Linked DNA regions of Homo sapiens: region 2 is linked to region 1. Evidence: promoter capture Hi-C in 16 types of primary human blood cells and fetal thymus (Javierre and others, 2016). All regions are on one chromosome and are shown on one strand. The core of a region is centred on a gene start or on the middle of the fragment in contact, and the rest is flanking DNA. Distances in the headings are between cores, read along the strand shown. Region 1 holds the start of CARD18 (caspase recruitment domain family member 18). Region 2 overlaps LOC105369468 (a long non-coding RNA gene).

The links. Contacts are between HindIII fragments. The CHiCAGO score rates a contact against its expected background, and 5 or more counts as called.
Region 2: a contact is called between a fragment that was not itself captured here and the fragment with the promoter of CARD18 in region 1, in 1 of 17 cell types (neutrophils). The highest score is 5.8, in neutrophils.

What each region holds. Positions count from the first base shown.
Region 1 is chr11:105,135,206-105,141,164 of GRCh38, forward strand. CARD18 (caspase recruitment domain family member 18) reads right to left here and starts at 4,564. Exons shown (of 3, transcript NM_021571.4): 1 at 4,515-4,564; 2 at 3,607-3,873; 3 at 2,509-2,893. The coding sequence starts at 4,521. The coding sequence ends at 3,608. The HindIII fragment of the contact is 11,660 bases long and covers 1-5,890 here.
Region 2 is chr11:105,313,091-105,319,163 of GRCh38, forward strand. The region is part of intron 2 of LOC105369468 (a long non-coding RNA gene); the gene reads right to left. Among named protein-coding and RNA genes, the nearest start is that of CARD18, 180 kb to the left of the region's middle. The HindIII fragment of the contact is 3,630 bases long and covers 794-4,423 here.

The DNA of each region.
Region 1 (5,959 bases), core at 3,314-5,813:
TATTGATGTCTTGAATACACAGCCATTAATGTCACAGCTCCCTCTTAGCTTTGTGGTATTGGGCAAGTTATCTCTGAAAAGTGGGACTAAGTTATACTAATTGTAATAATTTAATAAGGCTGTTGTGGAGAATAAATGAGAAGATACTAAGTGCTGACACACAGTAAAGACCTCCTTGAAAGCTAGCTGTTATTAGAAAAGCAAATAATCAGAAGAATGCAAGCCAGTCAGTGTCAATAAATGCTTCCATAGGGCAGTGACATCTGACTGCATCATAAAAAGTTAGGCATGGGTTGAAGAGAAGAGCATTCTGATAAGAGGAAATAGAGTGAGATGGGAAATGTGCAGACATGGAAATTAGGAAAGAGTCTGCATCAAGAGCTTAGCACTCCACTCCACAATGTTAATGCACTCCACGAGGAGGCTGGATAGGTAAGGAGGCCACAGAGAATAACATTTGTTGGTCGTGTTAAAGGCCAACACGGGAAAGCTATTGCTTTGTTTTAAATAGAGGTGTAACTTACATGCCCCCAGAATTGTCTGGCTCCAACAGTGGTGGCTCCAAAATACTTTTGTGAGAAGAGCTTATGGATGATTATCTGGTTGAGGTAGGGGAGATTCAAGAGAAGTAAAGGAATTGTTTTGAACTGTGTGTTTTTGTTTTGTTTTGTTTTAGATTCCACTATTTGATCTAGATATACGTTTACTAGGGTTGACTGAAAACACATTGTGTTTAGCTACTTTTCGGCTTCAGGGGATCAAGTCAGGTTAGGTAGTAAAAAAGACTCACAGATTGAGCTACTCCTTTAAGTCTTTCGTTTCAGTGACCTCGCAGACATCACTGCTCATTGCCTGTTGCTGTCCAGCATAAATTATCCCAGGTTCTTAGCAGGGGCACTAATTGACTCTAACAGCTTTACTGAAGGTGAGGATACTCATGAGCTGCCCTAATCCTCACATAAATTATATAGGCTGGACAGACTTTTACAGTCTTGATTTGATTATTTATAGGTTTTGTACTTTATATGGAGTTAAAGAAAAATTATATGGGTTATGATTTTTATTCCCTGGACTTTTATCCTTTACTCTGTATCATGATTCTATGTCTCTATAAAGGAATATACCAATAAAATTATTATACATGCAGGAAAAATGTATTTCTTGCTCATTCATTGGCAAGAACTGGGCTTAGCCCTTTGTAAACCCATTTCATTCTTTCAAAGACTCTATGTGGATGGTGTTTTTAATTCCTTTTTACATATAAGGAATTTGTGCCACAAAAAGGTTAAGATAATTTCCAAATGATCACTGAGCTTATGACAGACCTATCTTCACCTCAAACTTGTTCCCTTGAATACTGAGCATACTGCCAAACTACACTCAAAATGTAAATCCCTGTGTATTATTCCGAGACAATATCTGAAACTGGGCAATTTACAAAAGAAAGAGGTTTAGTGGACTTACAGTTCCACATGGCTGGGGAGGCCTTACAATCATAATAGAAGACAAGAAGGAGCAAGTCACATTTTACATGGAGGGCAACAGGCAAAGAGAGAGAGCTTGTGTAGGGAAACTCCCATTTTTAAAACCATCAGATTTCATGAGACTTATTCACTGTTACAAGAGCAGCATAGGAAAGACCTGTCCCCGTGATTCAGTTATCTCCCGCAGGGTCCCTGCCACAACACGTGGTAATTATGGGAGCTACAAGATGAGATTTGGGTGGGGACACAGAGACAAACAATATCACCCTCAAAATGTGTTTTCTCAAATAAACCAGCTGATTGCAAATGAGAATAGCCCTAACCTTAATCACTTATCTCAAATAAACACTTCCGGTCAGTGGCATATACCTCTTCTGTAGAAGAAAGTAACAAACATTCCCATTTACTGTATTTGGTGTCAACCTATAATAATTATTTTCTCCGTAATTTATGGCTGACAAATTCAGAAAGGAGAGGAATCACATTAAGTTTTATTTTAGTTTGCTAAAGAGCTTGGAAAAAGTGCACAAACCTAAAAAATTCAGGAAATTCTTTTGGCCTTTGTTCCTGGCACCCAATGCTTTGTTAGCACCTATGCCAGAAATTTTAGAAATTGACATGAGCTAACAAATTAGAAGACATCCTGAGGCATCTAGAAGACAATGCTTCATTATTTAACACTATATACACAGGGAAAAGACAGCTTAAGCATAATTAATAGCCAGTGTTTTGCTCTGAAGGGTGCAAAGCGATGACATGCCATCACACTATCTTGACTCCACAAATCTCCATTCCTCAGACATTAAGTCATATCTTGTTTCACCCTGCCCATGTGGACTTGAAATGCTATCAGTGCTTTTATGAACAGTTTTTTTGTGGAAGCCTGATGTCTGGCAATGGAGTATCTGCCATGGATTTTTCTCTATTATTTTCCCAGAAAGGAAGTTGTGTTTATTTTGTTGAGTAATTGTCATAGACCTGGGTCTGAACAACTAGATGAGAACATTACAAAGAAGCAACGCTATTTAAAATTCTGAGCTGGGACTTCATTTTATTCCCATCACAGCAGACTCTCAGTGCTAAAAGCACCAAAGTAAGCTGTACATGTCTCTACAGGATTGCAAAGGAACTAAACAGAAAGGAAGGGAAAGGGAGGGACTTTCTTAATTACATTACAATCATCATGACCTTCATTATTATTGATGAATTATCCTCTGTTGGTATGAGGAGAGAAAGAATAAGAAGAAAGTAATATGAGAGAATGAAAGATTTATTGGAAATTGATGAAATTAATCAGGTTTGAAAAAAGCACTGTTGTTTTGTTTTGTTTTTTTCTTTCACGAGAATATCTTCTCCCTTGGAAGAAGCTCTGGGAAGTCTCTGAAGTGCTCCAGAGTTCCATCTTCTCTCTGTGGAGGGAGAAAAGTGGTATTGGAATGGGCCAGCTCAGATACAAGAGCCTGCATCAGGGCTCTTAGGAGGCCTAGAAATACAAAGGGATAGGCTACAGAGAATGGTCTGTAGACTAGCCCCATGCAAGTAGACCATATTACACAAAAGAAAAGGCAAAGGAGATGACTTCCAACGAGAATCCATATATAATTTCATGCAAATATAATTATTTAGTGCATATTTAATTTTATATACACACTCAATTTATTCTTTGACAATTCCATCATCATTGTATATTCTGAAAAGTACTTAATAGGGAGATGGGGTAAGAGCAGGGTGGTAGGTACAAAAAGAGCTTATACCTTCTCTTCTAATAAATACATGGGCTTCTTAGGCTCAAGAGGGAGTGATATTGTACATTGCTCCCCAGGACCATTAAAAGATTCAGGATAAAACATCTAGGCTCTTTAAATGAACTACAGTAATGATCTACCACCTACATAGAATTAGAGATGAGCTGTGGTCAGCAGGGAGTACTGAGAGAACAGGTACAAGGGACACAAAAACGTAGACAGAAGAGACATAAGCTAGAGCCATGCATAAAGGAATGGAGTCTGAGGCTAAAATGATAGGAACCCTATTATCAACTGACAAGACAAGTGAAGAAAATCATAACTGAATTCAAGATACAGGGCCTATTTGGACATTAGGTTGAATCATTCCACCTTACCTTAGTGCAAACCCATCTTTGAGGCAAGTTGAGGGTCTTCTTCACAGAGATGCTTGATAAATTTGCAGCAAGACTTGGGTCCTTTTCCAGTAACAAGGTCAATCAAGACTCGAGCCTTATCCATGACAGTGTCATTTTCATCTCTCACTTTGTTCATGTCTTCCTGGCTAATAACTTCATCCTCTAATAGGCAATCCAGCAAGGCATTTATTGTGCCTGCACCCACTGAATGGATAAAAATTCTTCTCTTTTTACGCAAGAGTTGGTCTGTTGGAAGCACAAAGATTCCTCAAATAATGAACATGACACAATTTCCCTCTCAATTTACCAACAGGGTAACAATCATTTAAACATTTCTCTCCACAAGTACAGTAATCCCAAGGAACGGTCTTATACCTTTGCATTTACTCCACGTACTTCCTTCTGATTCTAGCATTACCTACATATGCTCACTGAGTGACCTGGGAAACTTGACTTCATGATTTTTCTGTGAATCTCCTAAAAATCAGAAGTCATTCTATTCTGACACATCCCAGTTTCTTGAATTTTGAAGGGAATTGACAGTTTCATGAATTTTGAAGGGAATTGACTGTTTCCTTTGAGAACAACAGCTACTGATACCCATCCTGTGCCCATTCTCATCCTGAACTACATAACTCTTCAAATGTGGACAACACTAGCAAAATTATAGCAGATACCAGTAGGATCCCAGATTCTTCCTGGCCTTTATCTGTTCCTTCAAAAACGCTGTGCAAGTCTGGGCATCTTCCCACCCTGCCTCTCCCTTCTTCTTTCTCTCTCCACCCCAAGGCTGCCCACACAAACCTTCACAAAGCCTAATGAGAAAGGCAGTCCTTTCCCAAACTAATTCCTCCCTAAGACCTATCCTCTTACTGGGGAAGACTCACCAGCCATGGCTCCTCACGTTGGCACTTGCAATGTGTGTTACACTTGCAATGACAGGCAAGGTAGCTCTATCCTTTTAGGCAGGGCGTGTACACAGATCAATGAACAATACTTACACCTACACATGTGTATTTATAATTATTGCCCAAGAAGCTGTTAACTATTGTCATTTCCCAAGGTATTTTTACACAATTGAATCTCAGATTGTAGCATGAACTGTGCCCATAAGAAAATTGCTTTACCATTCCTTGGTGGGTGAGAAACAAGAATAGGAGAGAATTGAGAAGGCACACACAGAGCTAAACACATGCAGTAAACAATCTTTAATTCACTGAGATTTAAATGGAAAGTAAAATCACAGTATAGGGTAGTTGTGCCACCTAAATCAAGTACTAAGAGTTCCTTTTTTAAATTGTGGTAAAATACACATAATATAAAATTTACCATCTTAGCCATTTTACAGTATCCAGTTCAGTGGCATTAAGTACATTCACATTGCTGTGTAGCCATCAATATCATCCAACTGTAGTTGTTTTCATTTTGGGAAATTGAAACTCTATACTCCTTAAACAGTAACTCTCTATCCTTTCCTTCCATCAGTCCCTGGCAACTAACATTGTACTTTCTGTCTTTATGAATTTGACTTCTCTAGGTATCTCATGTAAGTAGAATTATACAGTATTCATTTTTTGATGCCTGACTTATTTCACTTAGTGTAATGTCCTCGGTGTTTATTCATGTTGTGGCATGGGTCACAATTTCCTTTCTTTCTGAAGTTGAATAATACTCCATTCTATGTATGTACCACATTTTAGTTTACCCATTCTTCATTGAGCACAAATTTCTTCCCTTTTGCTATTGTAAATAACACTGCTATGAACATGGTATACAAATATGTTTTTGAGATTCTGCTGTCAATTATTTGAATATATACCCAGAAGTGGAACTGACAAATCATAGAGTAATTCTATTTCATTTTGTTTTGTGAAATCGGTATGCTGTTTTCCATAGCAGCTGCACTGTATTACATTCCCACATATAAAGCAGAAGCGTTCCAGTTTTTCCATGTCCTCACCAATACATATTATTTTTCTGTTCTTTTGATAATAGCCATCCTAATGGGTGTGAGATGGACTAAGACTTCTTACCTTCCTTTCATTGTTTTTTACCTAAGCTCTAGGCAGTCTCCAGACGCAGAAATGGTGTATGAAGCAGTTTTGCTATTTGGAATAAAAGTGCTTTGTTACGTAAGGCTCTTTTTCTTCAGATGGCACCATTTTAAGTAACACTGTATTACAAAGATTAAGGGCACAGACTCTGAAGCCAGAATGGTTGGATCCATATTTTAACTGCTGATCTTAGGAAAGGAAATTAACCAAGCTTTAGTCTTCCCATCTGCCAGATAGGTTTGATGATAATTCCTACCTTGCAGTTTTATTGCAAGTAT
Region 2 (6,073 bases), core at 1,359-3,858, 180 kb after region 1:
AAGCAGTAACTGTAACTATAGCAATTCCTCAGGGAACAAACATATTTTTAGATCTCTACATTAGAAATAGCATATTTGAAATACTAAGTCTTTGGTAATCTCTGAATAAAAATTACACATATCAAAATTTTAATACATTATTTTCTTTTGTAGAAAAAGATTATGTACATTTTTTATTTTATGAACCCACACATAATAAATATTTGCACCTTCATTAGTCATGAAACATTGATGTGATATAAAGAGTTTCAAACCAGAAAGACATATGACCTAAATTTAAATTTGGGAATTATACAATGGCTGGTGGTATTTTTCAGACTCTTTTCATTAAAAGGGAAGGAGCATAATACTTAATTTGTAAATTGATGACAGAAATTTCAAGAATTTGTTAAAGAACCTGGCATATGATAGACACTCAATCAAAATAATCCTAGGAATAACTATAGTGCACAGTTGAGTGTCTTTACAGATGATCAATAAAAGTTAACAATTCTTAACATCAAAGCATGAATGAATTGTGTTCTTAATTCATTCATTCATTCATTTGAATGCCAACTACATTCAACATCAAGCTTATTCCAATCCCTGGGCTACAATAGTCCCTATACCTGAAATGTTCCTTAAATATTCAAAAGTCTGACTGTATCTTCCTTGACAATCCTTAAAGGGTAGCATCCTTTTATTCTCTGTTCCCTTGTGCTGTCATTGTCTGTCTGACAGTTTATCATTTATAACATTTGCTTATCTCTGTTGTATGATTTCACTATACAGATGTAAGCTTTACAAGGTCTGAAGCTTATTTATATTGTTTACGGCTATACAATCAGTACTTTGAATTGTGTCAAGCATATTACATATATTTTTTACAGGAAATCTGAGGTCTTTATCATTATCGTCTTTCAATACATAATATGTCTTTCATTCTTCGGGATACTTTTAAGATTTTCTCTTTATTGATGATTTTGAAAATGTTTTATTATGCTGTATCTTGATGTCATTTTATTCATGTTCCTTATGCTTTGATTTCATTGAGCTTTTTGGTTCTGTGGAGCTATAGTTGTTTCAAACAAATTTGGAATAATTTTGGCCATTATTTGCTCAAATATTTTCTCTGTCTATCTCTCTTTTTCAGGGAACACAATTGCACATATATTACATTTCTTGAAGTTGCCCCACAGCTCTCCAACGCTCTGTTTATTATCCTTAGTTTTCTGTTCTCTTTGTGTGGCATTTTGGATAGATACAATTGCTATGCCTTCAAGTTTACTAATCTTTTCTTCTGCAATGTCCCATCTGCCATTAATCTCATTGTTTGAATTTTTCAGCTCACAAATTACAGTTTTGACAGAAATATACTTTGGGTCCCTTTTTGTCTTCCATGGCCTACTTAACTTTTCATACATATGAAATAGAGTTATCAGAACTATTTTAATATAGTTGTCTTTTAATTTAACATCTGTGTCCATTAAGCCTTACTTTTGACTGATTTTTCTACTCCTTAGGGATCATATTATCTTGCCTCTTTGAAAACCAGATAATTTTTTGGTTAGCATTGCCAGACATTGGCATTTTTACTTTGTTTGTTGAAGGATATTTTTGTATTAAGTATCTTTAATTAGTACTTTATATTTCATATAATAAACCTCAAGCATATATGTGTCTGTAAGGGCATGTGTATGTGTATGTCTTTGTCTATATATTCTCGGGCTGTATTCTACTTAGGATATTGTAATATATATGTATATGCCATATATAGATATACACATATTATAATATCACATGTATATACACAGATATACACATATTACAATATCTTAACTAGAATACAGCTCAAAAATATACTGACACTATATATATACACACATATATACAATATGTAAAGTAATAGTGTACAAAAATATTTGTCATCATGTGATAAAGAAAATGATCCTTGAGTATATATATAGCGTGTGTACATATATATATAATCCTCTAATATGTATAGTATATTATTCCTATAGTGTATACATTATATACTCTGTATATACTCCACAGATCCTATAGTATATAATATATATAATATCCTATTCATATTTTTCAGCTTTATTCTAGGATAAAATTGAGAGATTTGGACGTAGTTTGATCTTATCTGGCCTTGCTCTTAGGATTTGTAAGGGAGAACAAGAGTAGAGCTCAGTCTCAGGATAATCTTTCCCCACTACTGAAAAAAGATTCTTCTGTGTACTCCACATGATGCTCTGTGAATCATGAGGTTTTCCATCATAGCAGGTGGAAATAGACCACAGTTCAGCCTTATTTGAGTGCCAGATACTCTTCTCTATAAGCCTTTCGAGTGTTTACTTTCCTAGCCTCAGAGAGTTTCCCCATACAGGTAATACTGATCATTACACAGCAGAATACTCAAGGGGGCCCTCTACAGATCTCTGGAGTTCTCCTTCTATGGAGTTCTCTCCTTTCTGGTGCTCTGTCCAAATTCTGGCAGTCTTAGTCTCTCTGGACTCCCATGTCCATATTCTTCACTCACAGAGCTCACCAAGCTCTGTCTCGACTTTCCCTTCTCTGCAGCACAGTATAGGAGCTTACTCAATGCAGTAAAACTAGCATTCAACGAATTGACTTTAGTTGTTTCCCATGTCTTAAGGATCATTGCCTTCATCATGTGATGCCTAATATTTTGTACACTATTACTTTATGTATTTTGTCTGTTCTCAGTTGTTTCAGGGAAGAGTACAGCTGTTCTTCATTACTCTAAATTGACCATAAACGGAAGTCCTATCAATAGGGATTGAAGGCAGGGTGTAAATACATCAACCAAGGTCCACTGTTTTCCAGTTCTGATCATGATTCTTCTGTCTACAAGGCAAGTTTAACAAGGAGATTCTTTATTCTATATTCAGGAATACATTCACGTGTTTCCTGGGTTTTGTTCAGATGGAGTCTGGTATGGTTTCCCACACCTTGCACTGTTCTGTGTTCAGACACTACCAGTCTGCTCTGATTGGCTTCCTTTGTCTTACTCCTTTTAAGTTTATTAAATTCTAGCCACTAACCAGGACAAATAAAAGGCTTTGTACACCAGTTCCTCATAGGAGAATACACTCCCCATCCAAATCCATTGAAATAAACAAGTTTCTTGTTTTCTCCCTGAACTGGTAAGATTTTTATTGGAAATTAAATATTTCAGACTTTATTCAATTTTTAAAATTTCCTACTTTCTCACTTGCTCATTTGAGCATCCTAACCCTTTGGGGTGTGTTAAAGTACAAGTCACTAGTATTTAAAACCTTATTCTGTGCATTTCAAAACACACCCCACTCCCATTAAATACAGAGTTTATGGTACTAAATGTACCCTTTTCTTTTCAGGTACCTGAGAATTTCATTTTCTTTATTGCAAGGTTAATTAAATGTTGGCCTCAACCTCTAAATTCACTTTTGTCCAGCATATCTAGGTTATCATGGTTGAAAGGAGTTTGGAATTAATAGCCCATGAAAGTTTTATTTATATGTCTGTGTATAAATATTTTGCTTAATTTTTACTGAATGTAAAGTGTCCACACATATCAGTCATGTGTCTCCACAGCAACAAAATTCTCAAATATTTCAAAATAAATAATAACACAAAGTCTACTGACTAAGAAGTTTACAAACATGGATGTATAACTGGTTTGTGTGTGTGGGTGCAAGTGTATGATCTATGAAACTATGCTTTATTTTGAAATGTTAATTAATAATTCATGAGGAAAAATAAAATTCAGTGAGAAATTATATATGTAAGTTAACAAAGAAAGGATGGAACTAATTTTATCGATTTGGCAAATGTTTAATTTTTTAATATCAAATTAATTAAAAACCAAAGAACATAATTAACTGTTGAAACTAAATTAAGTGATATGCATTATTTCTAAATAGAAGCTGAAGAAATATGAACTGAAGCCAAGAAGCAAAATAGATTCCAACCTCAGACAAATACAATCCAGTGGATTGTAAAAGAAATGTGATTTTAACTAGATATTAACAAAATAGGACTAGAGACAAAAAAAAACTCTGGTGGTAATAGACCAGAAAAAGAAACCCAAGCCTAAAAAACATTCAACGAATTTTACCTGGTGATAAAAAGATGACGTGAGGCAATTTTTAAGTGAGCAATAAACCACTCAATACCTTACAGTTGAATAATTCAGTTTTAATAAAAAAGGAATCCAATAAATCAAGTTCTTATAAAAGATACAAACATACAAATATAAAACATTAATTTCAGGTTTGAAAAAAATTCAAATTAACATGCTCATTTCTCCTACATGTAGTATGTACACAGAGATATATTTTGTTTTAAATATTTAAATGTAATAGTGAACTATGTAGGATTCTAAGCTATTGCTTTTTCACCAAGTATTTCTTATAGTGACTAATTTTTTCCACCAAGCTTTTCGAGATCATAAATAGGACCACCTGTGAGTTTCAAGCTCTTACATGGTTCCCCTAAACATGGATACAAAGTCATTTTACAGAAGATTTAATAGCTCACATGGCATTTGGTTTAGTCTTTTCTTTAGAATTTGACATAAAACTAGTAGTACTAACGTTTCTAAAAAAAGCAAGCAGAAATATGAATTTATTAAAATAAATAAGACCCAAAAATAACTATATATAAAAGTAAAGGAAAATATTATTTTCTTGAATAACAGCAGAAAGTAAAATTAAGATGTGTATATTGAACGTAAAAATGCTTTCTCTTTTGAGTTAATCCTCATAGCTACTCTGCAAGCCCTCTTTAATATTTACCGATGTCTTTACAGCTCATGTTTGACATAGAAACCCCACTTCCAGGAAAGTACAATAAGAAAATAATCAGTGGTGGCTGCAAGATCTGTGAAAGATAATATCCAGTTTAATACACAGTGTTTATAACAACAATTTTGAAAATAACCAGGATATTAGACATTTTAAATAATTAAAAATTGATTTAGAGTCATGAAGGCAACCCAGGTCCAAAAGAAAGCACACAGGTGAAAATAGCCCATTGGAGGTCCCGCTTGGGCCAGGAGGGCATCTTGCAGTGAGTGACCTGGAGCAGCTAAGCTCCACAGAGTGCCTAGACCTGGGCAGGCAGGGTCCCTGCCTTGGGCACACATTGCAGGGTCCCTGCCTTGGGCACACATTTCAGGGGCCCTGCACATTGGAATGGCTTTTTTTGCATGGAAAGACAGGATCTGTAGCCCTAGGCCAGCAACTGTGTAAGCCTGTTCCTGTTTCTGCCCTTGGAGACATTCTAACCTTTTATGCCTTCCCAGTCCCACAAGAGATTGAGTAAACGCCCCGAGGACCACGAAGACTCCTGCCTATGGGATGGTTTCTGGCCCCATAACTTCTCCATGGTTTCAGAAAGATGACTGGCAAGGATCACTCCCACTGGCAGGGGCTGTATTTCTTTTAACAGAGAGCAGAAGATTGGTGTGCAGGAAAGATGCTGAGATACTGAGTTCTTTCTTCTCAACAGAGGAGAGTTCAGGACTTTGGGCAACGGGCACAGTTCACGGGCTATAGCCAAATGTGTGACCAGTATGCCTACTCTTGCCCTTTTGGTATCCCGTTGCTGTGCTGCCTGTGGTCTGCAGGTCCTGAAGGCTGAGAAGATGGCAGTAGTCATCCTGTTCCTGGGGAGTTTACTACCACTGGTACTCTTCACAGGTTCCCCATCATATGTCAGGCAACCCTCAAGGCATGTCTCAGCTTATCCTTGGAGGCTTTACATGACCATCTACAACTTATTTCAATCAATGTGCTCCATTACCACTGATTTGCCAATGATATGCTTTTTTCTATGAGTCTAAGCCATACCAAAGGAAAGATAAATATTCCCTGTGCAAATGAAATCACTCTTTTAGCTCTGCCTAGGAACTCTTGCCTACTCTGCCACCTAGTACTATTGCCTGGAGGGTAGGAAGGTAGGGAATGTGGTCAAAATTGAAAGAGATTATATTCTATGAATGCAATAATAACAGAGTTCAAGAGAAGATAGGTTGAAGGATGTGCTGTTTGACATCTTTACTATAAAATTATGTATGGTAAAG